3 separate regions of the Homo sapiens genome follow, and all the other regions are linked to region 1. Evidence: promoter capture Hi-C in 16 types of primary human blood cells and fetal thymus (Javierre and others, 2016). All regions are on one chromosome and are shown on one strand. The core of a region is centred on a gene start or on the middle of the fragment in contact, and the rest is flanking DNA. Distances in the headings are between cores, read along the strand shown. Region 1 holds the start of RTTN (rotatin). Region 2 overlaps RTTN (rotatin). Region 3 overlaps SOCS6 (suppressor of cytokine signaling 6).

Evidence for each region. The method cuts DNA at HindIII sites, captures the fragments that hold promoters and counts their contacts. A CHiCAGO score of 5 or more calls a contact.
Region 2: a contact is called between a fragment that was not itself captured here and the fragment with the promoter of RTTN in region 1, in 1 of 17 cell types (total B cells). The highest score is 5.2, in total B cells.
Region 3: a fragment that was not itself captured here is called in contact with the fragment with the promoter of RTTN in region 1 in 3 of 17 cell types (monocytes, M0 macrophages and M1 macrophages); the score reaches 13.0 in monocytes.

Annotation. Positions count from the first base shown.
Region 1 is chr18:70,203,513-70,207,057 of GRCh38, forward strand. RTTN (rotatin) reads right to left here and starts at 2,175. Exons shown (of 49, transcript NM_173630.4): 1 at 2,116-2,175; 2 at 1,616-1,803; 3 at 574-751. The coding sequence starts at 2,146. It overlaps LOC105372180 (a long non-coding RNA gene), which reads left to right and starts at 2,277. Exons shown (of 3, transcript XR_935599.3): 1 at 2,277-3,062; 2 at 3,517-3,545. RefSeq lists enhancers at 1,875-2,004, 2,215-2,324, 2,243-2,872, 2,335-2,574. The HindIII fragment of the contact is 5,232 bases long and covers 693-3,545 here.
Region 2 is chr18:70,123,338-70,127,332 of GRCh38, forward strand. The region is part of intron 25 of RTTN (rotatin); the gene reads right to left. Among named protein-coding and RNA genes, the nearest start is that of RTTN, 80 kb to the right of the region's middle. The HindIII fragment of the contact is 1,992 bases long and covers 333-2,324 here.
Region 3 is chr18:70,304,376-70,308,040 of GRCh38, forward strand. All of the region lies in intron 1 of SOCS6 (suppressor of cytokine signaling 6), which reads left to right. Among named protein-coding and RNA genes, the nearest start is that of SOCS6, 17 kb to the left of the region's middle. The HindIII fragment of the contact is 1,461 bases long and covers 1,231-2,691 here.

The DNA.
Region 1 (3,545 bases), core at 925-3,424:
CCCAGTTTTTGAATGAGAAAACTGAAGCCTGGAAGGGTTAATTACCTTAGCCAAGGTCACACAACTAGCAGCAGAACTGAGACTTAAATCCATGTCTCTTTGACTTGGATTTTAACAAGTATATCATGATGGACTGCAGCATATAAAAATACTTGCATTATGTCGTTTTGATTGGTCCCCACAACAAGATCATGAGCTAGGACAGATATCATTATACTCCAATATGACGAACAAGGTCAAAAATACAAATATAAAGCACTAAGAACAATGAGCACTCATGTGCTCAATAAAAATACATTGTTATTGCCAAAAAAATAATCTGTCAAACTGGCCTCATAAAAGCAAAGTCACTGGCATCGTTTAGGCCTGACCCAAAAAGCAATTAATGCAAATGTACCATCCTTTGACTAACAGTAGAGGAGGGGAAAAAGGTCAAAATCATGTAAGTTAACACAAGAAAAATAAGTTTGGGGGAGGTGGGAGAAATCCTTTTTAAAAAAATCTAATCTCCCTTTCCTTAAAATTTACCATTAGAATTAATATATTTGTATTTAACAGATTCCAAAGAGTTACCAGTTTGATTGGTTTGGTATGAGGCAGAAGATAGTGCAGGAACTTCCGAAGGAAGAAGAAAAAGTCCATCCAGAATGCCATCAATTTCAGCCTGCAGATTTGGCTCCACATTAGACCGAAGCTTAGATAAGAACTCTACTGCACCAACGTCAACCAAATGTTGGACTGCTGGGGGATACTAAAATAAGAAGAGGATGATCTTGAGAATAACTGTATCAAAATCTCTATAACTTACAGCAATCAAAACATAAAATTATTTTTGGTATATCAGATGTTCCTTTTCTGAAAAACAAATCCTTCATGGCTCTGCCCCGAAGTAAGGCACTTCCATGAGGAGCACATACACCTATAGAGACATACATCCAACACTTGATAACATTTATGAAAGATGAGCCAACACACTGAACGCTAGAAATGCACATTATCAATCCCTACTCTTATTTTTTTAATGGGTTACTTTTTTCCACTGACACTCACCTTATGGTCCCAGCCCCAACCGGTCAACAGGATGTCAAAGTAGTTTAAGATTCCTCTACCATTGTACAGTGATTTAGTTTTGAAAGGTTAAACTTACACTTTGATATCTGACCCCGATAACTAACTACTCTTGAGGTAGGCATAAGAATACCAATCTAAAAGCATATGGGCAAGCAACTTAACATTGGTATTTATGAATCACGGTTATGTAACATTATTTTTAAAGTGCTCCCTTTCATACTGACATATCTAGTTTTTAAGATGTAAATGTCAGAAAACAAAAACAGAATACAAATATTAACCTCCAAAGATAACTCAAAAACACAGAACATACCAAAACTCAAAAGAAGTTCTGTGTTACTTCTGAGCACAGCAGAGACCATGTGGGATTCAGTATCACAAATAAAAGATGAACCATATACCCAGATTAATTAAAATTAAACATCTCTGGTTGATTAAAAAAACTTTTAACCCCAATTATTTAACTTTCAATAAACGCTACAATTAAATGACTAAGAAACAAGTCACTCGTCTGATTATTTTCTTTATTTCAAAATGACCCTACCTTAACCAATCTGCTTAACAGGTTCAGAACCTCTTCCTTCATCGGAACGGACGGGAAATTGAACCATTCCAGCAAATGAAGAAAAAGTTGCCTCTCCTGAATGAGATCAGCGTAGCAGATTAAGTTGTGCTCAATCTTGCAGAGAATACTCTTGAGAGCGCGCTCCCTGATCTCGGCCAGCTGATGACCTGTCAACGAACGGCACAAAACTATTTTATTTCCCGACTGCAAAGAGACTACGTTATTTATGCTGTGGGCAGGAGCGGCGTGAAGACGGAATAAACCAGTTTTTTTCAGAAGCAGGCCACTGGTGCCTTCGGGACGCGAACCGCGAAGTTTACACAAAGTCCGAGATGGGTCCCCGGGGGCTATCCTGACAAAGCGGGGGTGAAAGAGGGAGCGGTCGCGGAGCGGCCGGCCGCGGAAACGTGACACGACCATTCTCAGCAAGTGGCCAGAGCGCGGGGGGTGCCTTGGGCGAGGGGCAAGCTGACAGTTACCGAGTTTCCTGATGAGCCCTGCCAGGACCATCTCGTCCCGTCAATCTGCAGCCGCCGGAGAATTAAACTGCCGCGCCACTGCGTCCAGCCACAATTAATGTACCCCCGGAAACACGTCCTGTGGGACGGTGAGTTCCGCAACGCCTGCGCTCACCAGGAGTAGGAGTCATTACGTGAGCCCTTCGCGGCCCCAGCGTCGCCAGGAGAGCTTCCAGCCTCTCTAGAATCACTACTGCGCACTTCCTGGACAGCAGTCTCCGTCGCAAGAAGCGGAGGGAAAAAAAAAAGCAACAAGCAGGGATAGAACCAGCGTTGGCCGCCGCGCACGTCGGGAGTTGTAGTTCTGGCTAGGCCGTGCGTCCTGCACCGATCTCCGGGCCCGCCGCGGCGCCCGCTGGCCTGGGGTTCCGGCTTACAGCGCGGGAATTCGGGAACCCAGCGCGGGCTGCAGAGGCCCCAGCAGGAGCCCCGCCTCCCGGCTCGTCGACGGATTCGTTCTTGGCCCTGCCAATCTGATTCTCAGCTCCCAGAACTTCACGATTTAGAATGTAGACTTTTGCTTTGTGACAGTTCTCCCCATCCCCGACTACTAAATGACGAACCCTCTTTAACTGTGAAATGTACCTGCAAAGTCAAGCAGTGTCTTTGGATACCCAAGTTCAGATATGAACAAGCAAGCTACAAAAGCGGGGTGGGCGGGTATGAGTGAGCAGAAGAGAGAAACCGGGCTGCAAAAAAGGAAAATAAAGGCGGGACGTGGGGGTATGATTTGCTGAATGGTACCAAAGTTGATTTTTTGCACCGTGCACAGTGATCGAGCTGAGCAAATTATTTTTTTTTTAATTATAAGCAGCGGTAAGAACAACAACAAAATTACATTTGGAAAATGATTTGCATTTTCTCGGTCTGATCATTTCACGTTCCCTGGGAAAGGGATGTCAAGGCAGGTAAAGTGGGCCCTCGGTATCCCTAGGTAATTGGTTCCAGGACCCCCGCAGATACCCAAATCCACCCATGCTTAAGTCTCTTTTATAAAATGGTGTAGTATTTGCATATAACCTACACACATCCTCCTATATGCTTTAAATCATCTCTAGATTGCTTACAATACCTAATACACTGTAAATGCTATGTAAATAGTTGTTACACTGTACTTTTATTCATATTATTTTTTAATTGTTGTATTGTTATTTTCAACTGTGGGGTTTTTTCCCGAATATTTTCCATCCCGTGTGTTGAATTCTCTGTGTGCAACCAGTGGACAGCAAAGGCCTACTGTATTCCCATTCCTATTTTGCCAAAGAGGAAACTTAGAATCACAAAAGTACCCCCACACAAAGTCACATTAACTAGTAAGTGACAGATTGAGGAGCTGACCTGATGTTTCTTTGTTCTATTTAGAGTGCCTTGCTGCCTCCTCATGTGTGTCA
Region 2 (3,995 bases), core at 79-2,578, 81 kb before region 1:
TGGTGAGAACATTTAACATCTATTCTTTTAGCTATTTTGAAACATATATTATTATTAACTATAGTCACTATGCTGTAAGAGATCACCAGAACTCATTCCTCTTGTCTAACTGGAATTTTGTAACCTCTCAGCAACGTCTCCCTTTTCCCTACCCATATCCACCTGCCACTTGCCTCTGGTAACAATTCTACTCTACTTCTTTGAATTCGACTTTTTTAGATTCCATATATAAGACAGATCATGTGGTATTTGTTTCTCTGTGTGCCTGGTATCTTTTCGGCTTCCAATCCCATAGACTTTTAACATCCTTCTACCTGTTATGCCTTGGCTTAAGCTTCATTCTCTGAACCACTTTCTCTCTACTGAAGAGGGATAGGGTGCTCCTCTAATGCAGTTTCCTAATAGTCTGCTTGGAAGCATTTCTACTTTTGATTATACTTTTAGCTGTCTTAATTCCAAGTTCCATGAGAGCAGGACCCTATCAGTTTTGCCCACTGCTATATTTCCTACAAGAGTGACACCTAGTAGGTGATCAATAAATGTTTGTTGAATGATGGAAAAGCAGTAGGAAAAGAAAGGCAGTAGCCCCTTTCTTCCTATTCACCCCATGCCACAGCACCACACCCATATAAGGTATCATGTCCAGATCTCAGGGAGAGTCCTAAGAAACACAATACCCTTGTAAAATAGCATGAACAAATGAGAAGTCTGGACACTGTGGCTTTTAAAGTCTATCTAAAAAAAAAAACAAATCATTTAAAGCAGGGTGGGGGGAATAGAGAAGAAATTATAGTTATGTTTAAATGAAGAGCTGTCACATGTGAAGACATTATTTATTCTGTGAGTTTAAAGGACAGAATAACAGGTAGAAATGATCAGGTACAGTCTAAAAGAACAAAAAACTTACGAATAATCACAGCGCAAAAACAGAATGAATATCCTTCAAAGGAGGTGTTCACGCTGAGGCTGCATGGCCAACTGTATACTATGACTTATGCGATATGTGAGGGATATAAAAAGGAATGTAATAAACCCAAGGCACATGAGAAAACAAATATTTAAACAACTGTAGAAGTAATGCAGGAAAGCCACATGACAATCAGGGTAACTAGAATTCCACATACATCACAGAGTAAGAAGACCCTGGAGCTCAAGGAAGAGTAGATATTCACAAGGCAGCCAAGGAGTTAACTATGTAAAAGCAAGGATGTATAAAACAGAAGTGTATGCCCTAAAATATCAAGCAGTTTCATAAAACCCCAATATTTGCACTTCATAGAAACACAGCATATGTTAGAGAGAGAGGAGGAAACTGTAGCTGAAAAGGTAAGCAAGAGCTAGATCAAAAAGAACTTTCTACAGCATGCTAAGGGGTTGGAATTCTATTAATATCTAGCACACCATGGAAGAGAACCCACAGGTGACATGTATTTCAGAAGGATCATTCAGGAAGCAACATAAATGAGTGGCATAAGGTTAAAAGCAGAAAAACCAATTCGCTAGTCAGTCTACAGTCTGGTGAAAAATGGAGAAAAACAGTAGCAATAGGACTTCCAGTAGGAAAGGAGTAGAGAGGCATTAAACATGCAAACTCAACAGAAACTAGTTGAAAGAAGACTCTAGATACCTCTGACAACTTGTAATCCTACTAAACCATGACTATCATCTGTTTTCTTAAAATAAGTTTCCAAAATGATATTAGATTATAATTGTATGCTTGTGTGTTAGCATACACATATAAAAACATACACATAAATTAATGTTGGGCTGTTAAAATAATCATCTTGGAAAGTTATGTTTAGAAGCCACAGTACCGTAAGTAAAAAGATTTTAGAAACCATGTTTTTTGTCAAACTGAAATATACTTTTGTTAATAGTGATAAATAGTCATGGTTTAGGGTGGTGTTCATTTCGGTATACATGTAAAAATCATTTTTACCCTTCTCTGGATAGTTGAGTTTGCTAATATCATTTTTTAGTAAAAAATTAAATATAACTTCAAAATATAATAAGACTTCCTTACATCTGCTGTTTAAATGACCTGAGAGGACAATTTCAAAATATCTGAGCAAAGCCAGAATTATTCTAACATACACACTCACTCCTAAAAGGACCTCTTTTGCGGAACATTCATTTGGATATATCATATATTTGAAAAATTAGCCTCAAAGTATATTTACTGACATGGAAAATGTGTAAAAAATAACATTATTTTTAAAATACAATAAAAAACCATTCACACAGGTATGAACATGCTTCTCTATATTTTGTTTTGTCTAGAATGATATAATTTGAAATAGCTGTATTTTAAAAATATTAAACTAAGCTTATAAAAATGTTCTCAATATCTCAATACTTTATACAGCCATGATTTATGGGAATCTTCTATCTCCAAGCACCCTTTAAGCTGTTGGTTCATCTTAGATAATCAGTCAAAAAGATAATGTTCCTTTCTATCATTAAACTGAATGAAAGCAAAACTAAAGTTTCCCAAAGCCTCATTAGTACATACATTGCTGGAAGTAAAGTTTTTAAAAAGTTTTCATGAAAAAAGGTGGATTCTGTGATATATATTTTTGATACATTCCTTAGTGAAACATAATACAGCAGAAATACATGAATATTTATAAATTAGGCAGTAGTGTCTGTGTTGCCATGATCAAACACAGGCCTAAAAACCAAATACAAGATGAATATTATATATGCATGTGTGTATATATTAAACATATACACAGTCTATACTCTCCACTTACACTAGTCCTGAGGAAACTAACCATAAAAAATGTGATGCTCACATACAGTTACTGCTATTGGGCAATTTGAAATACTCTAAAGGCTTCCACTGACCCACAGTTTGAGAGTCTTTCCTGTAATGTGGTATTGCATACTATTTCTATGGTTTTAATTCACAAGAGAAAGAAAACTTAGTGCAATGAATTCAATCAGCTTTTATGTTAAAATTTCTTTTGACAAATAGGGACATATTACATTTATTTAAAGTGAAGGATTTATGCATTCTTCAACTGGCGAGACTGTTTAAATGCGGGAGTGTGCTGATAAATATGTAACTGAGAGTGCTGACTTATTGTGTTTGTCAATTTCCATGGTGTAAATATACTACTGTAGACAATGTGGAGCTACCATGTAACATGAAGTTGTGAAGAGATGCACAGTGGTACTCCATTGTAGTTATTTCCATAAAATACATACCCCTGTAGTGCATATGTATGCATAACCTCAAGAACAAAGATAACAGTAAAATGTTGCCACATAATTAGAAAGTGATGTTTGCATATTCATTACCTTTTGTCTTCATATAATTTATTTAATTGTAAGTTTATATAATTAAGAATGGCTGTGTTTAACAATCACCTTACAAAAATCCTGAAAATTCAACCATCAGCTCTCTCACAAGGCTGCATTAGTGGGCACCAGCACACCACTGGAAAGCCTAATCAGATAAACTAATTTTTAAAGCTAAACTAATAAAGGAATTCATATTTTGGAAACTCATTTAACCTAGCAGCTTAAAAACTGCACATTTTATGTTAAATAATAAAGTTATACATTTTATACTAAAGTCACATGAAGAATAAAATGAAAACCTGCTTGCAGTGGTTGCTTATCAGTCTTGTTGCAAATGCAACCATCTGCTACAAGTTAAGCATGTTAAATTGACAAGCTAGAGCCTTCTCAATTAACTGCTATAAAGGACCGCCACATGGCAATCAACTTCATGAAATTGAGAGTAAAAAGAAAAATGATATAATTTACTTAAGAACAAAACAAAAGCAAAACAAAACAGCCTGTGGCAGGTGTATCACAGCTATTAATCAATTCACTGATGTCTCAACTCATTTATAACATGGATAGAAATAAACATTCAATTTGTTTCATCCATGTCTTATCCTAATTATTTGCTTTTGTGAGGTAAAATTTTCTAAGAATAAATTGTTACAAGTTTATTAATAATCCCTTCAACAATGCAATAACTA
Region 3 (3,665 bases), core at 711-3,210, 100 kb after region 1:
GGGGAAAAAAAAAACTTTGCTTAAAAGCCAACCCATCTTACATTCCCACCAGCAGTGTATAAGGTTTCTGGTTTCTCTGCATCCCTCCCTTTGTCATGATATTGTCATGATAGTGGTTGTGCAGTGGTATCTTTTTGTGGCTTTAATTTACATTTTGAATGACTAATACTATTAAGCACCTTTTCGTGTGCTTATTAGCCATTTGTGTGTTGTCTTTGGTCAAAGGTTTGTTCACATCTTTTGCTCATTTAAAAAATTAGGTTTTATTTATATCTTGGTATCATCTCTTGTCAGTTACGATACACAGATATTCTAGCCTGTGGCTTAGAAGATATGATACACAGATATTTTCTTCTAGCCTGTGGCTTATCTTTCTTTTAATGGTTTGTTTTGAAACACAAACACTTTTAAATTTTAGTTATTAAATTTTAATGATGTTTAACTTAGCAGAGTTTTTCTCTTATATATTGTGCTTTTGGTATTGTGTCCAGGAACTCTTTGTCCAAACTAGAGTCACAAAGTTTTTTTAAAGAAGTTTTATAGTTTCATGGCCGAGCGCGGTGGCTCACGCCTGTAATCCCAGCACTTTGGGATGCCGAGGTGGGCGGATCTGAAGGTCAGGAGTTCGAGACCAGTCTGGCCAACATGGTGAAACCCAGTCTCTACTAAGAAAATACAAAAATTTGCCGGGCATGGTGGCATGCACCTGTAATCCCAGCTATTGGGGAGGCCGACGCAGGAGAATTGTTTGAAGCCGGGAGGTGGGAGGTTGCAGTGAGCCGAGATCGCGCCACTGCACTCCAACCTGAGCAACAGAGCAAGACGCCGTCTCAAAAAGAAAAAAAAAAAAGTTTTATAGTTTTAGTTCATACATTTAGGTATATGACCCATTTTGACTTAATTCTTACCTATGGTGTGAAGTAAGGGTTTACATTTTTGTTTTTAGTTATTCATTTGTCCCAGCACCATTTGTCAAGAAGACTTTCCTCATTGACTCGTCTTGGGACGTTTCTTGAAAATCAGTCGACTATAAATGTAAGGATTTATTTCCAGACTCCTTTATTCTGTGATGTGTATGCCAGTCTCTGTGTCAGCAGCACACTGTCTTGATTCCTATAGTTTTATAAGCACTTTCGAAATTGGATAGTGTAACTTTGTTCTTTTTCAAAATTGCATTTCAATATAAATTTTAGGAATATTGTATCAATTAATATAAAAAAGAGCTTACTAAGCTTTTGATAGGGATTGTTTGAATCTATAGATCAATTTTGGAAGAATTGCCATATTAATAATATTGAATCTTCCAGTTCAAAAACATGGAATCTCTAATTATTTAGAATCTCTATATTCTCTTAGCAGTGTTTTGTAGTTTTGACTGTATGAATCTTGTACTACATGTGTTAAATTTATTCCTCAGTCATTTTATATTTTGTGAACAGAATTGTTTTCTTAATTCACTTTTGGTGTGCTAGTCGTTTTATTGTTGCTAGGTTTGTAGGCTTGTAGGGTGGGTGTGTGGGGGTGTGTGTGTGTGTTGTGTGAGTTCCTTGGGTTTTTCTACGTATAAGATTTTGTCAGCTGGCCAGGCGTGGGGGCTTATGCCTATAATCTCAGCACTTTGGGAGGCCAAGGCTGGAGGATCGCTTGAGCCTAGGAGTTTAAGACCAGCCTGGGAAACATAGGGAGACCCTGTCTCTATTAAAAGTTAGCTAAGTGTGGTGGCATGCATCTGTAGTCCAAGCTCCTTGGAAGGCTGAGGCAAGAAGATTGGTTGAGCTCAGGAGGTCGAGGCTGCAGTGAGCTGTGATCATGCCACTGCACCCCAGCCTGGTGACAGAGTGACATCCTGTCACAAAAAAGCAGCCGAAGTGGGTGGATCACGAGGTCAGGAGATCAAGACCATCCTGGCCAACATGGTGAAACCCTGTCTCTACTAAGAATACAAAAAATTAGCTGGGTGTGGTGGCGCACGCTACTGGGGAGGCTACTGGGGAGGCTACTGGGAGCTGAGGCAGGAGAATCTCTTGAACCTGGGAGGCGGAGATTGCAGTGAGCTGAGATCGTGCCATTGCACTCCAGCCTGGTGACAGAGACTCCATCTCAAAAAAAAAAAAAAAAAAAAAAGAAAGAAAGCCAAAAACTAAGATTGTGTCAATTATGAATAAAGATGGTTTTATTTCTTCCTTTCCAATTTGTATGCATTTTTTTTCTTGTTCCACTGGCTCAAACCTTCAGTACAGTGTTGAGTAGAGGGGGTGAGCGCAAATGTCCTTGTCTTGCCCCCAGTCTTAGTGGCAAAGCATTCAGCCCTTCAGCATTAAGTATGATGTTAGCTGTAGGTTTTTCATAGTTGCCCTTAATTAGTTTGAGCAAGTTTCCTTCTGTTCTTAGCTTATAAAAAGTTTTTATCAATAGGTGTTGTCAATGCCTTTCTGCAACTATTAAGATGATCATGTGTGTTTTTTTCCATCTTTATTAGTATGCTGTAGTGCATCAATTGGTTATTGATGTTAAACCAACCTGGATAAATCTCATTTGGTCAAGGTATATAATGCTTTTTATATGTTGCTGAATTCAGTTTGCTGATGTTTTGTTAAGAAGTTTTGGCCAAGCATGGTGGCTTACGCCTGTAATCCCAACACTTTGGGAGGTCTAGGCAGGAGGACTCTTTGAGCCCAGGAGTTCTAGACAAGCTTGGGCAACATAGGGAGACCCCAGCTTTACAAAAAATAAAAAAATTAGCCGGGTGTGCTGGTGCGTGCCTGTAGTCCCAGCTATTTGGGAGGCCATGATGGGAGGATCACTTGAGCCTGAAGATGGAGGTTGCAGCGAGCCATGATTGCATCACTGCACTCCAGCCTGGGCAACAGAATGAGACCCTGTCTCTAAAAATAATAAAGAATTTTTCTATCAGTGTTCATGATGGATATTGATTTGTAGTTTTCTTGTGATGTCTTTGCCTTTGTTATCAGGGTAATACTGGCCTCACAGAATGGCTTGTGAAGTGTTCCTTTCTTCTCTGTTAGCTGAAAGAGTTTGTGAAGATTTGTATTAATTGTTTAAATCTTTAGTGGAATTTACCAGTGAAGCCACCCGAGCCTGACCTTTCTTTATAGGAAGGTTTTTAATTATCAATTCATTCCTTACTCGTTATAGGTCTATTTAGATTCTCTGTTTCCTTTTGAGTCAGATTTGGTAATTTGTGTCTTTCTAGGATTTTGTCCATTTTCTCTTAAGTTTTCTAATTTGTTGGTAAAAGGTGATTTATAGTATTCCCATATAGTCCTTTAAATTTCCATAGGCTTGATAGTGATAGCCTTTCTTTCATTTCTGATTTTGCTAATTTATGTCTTCTCTCTTAATTTCTTTGTCAGTCTAGCCTAAAGCTTTGTCTGTTTTTTATCTTTTCAAATGACTCACTTTTGGTTTTATTTGTTTTTTCCCTCTTGTTTTTCTGTTTTCTATTTTATTAATTTCTACTCTAACATTTACTATTTTATTCTACTTTCATTGGGTTTAGTTATTTTCTAATTTCTTAAGGGTGAAAGCTTAGGTTATTGATTTGAGATATAGGCATTTAAAGCTGTACATTTTTTCCTAAGCACTACTTTAGCCACATCCCATAAATTTGTGTATGTTTTGTTTTTATTCTGTTCAAAATATTT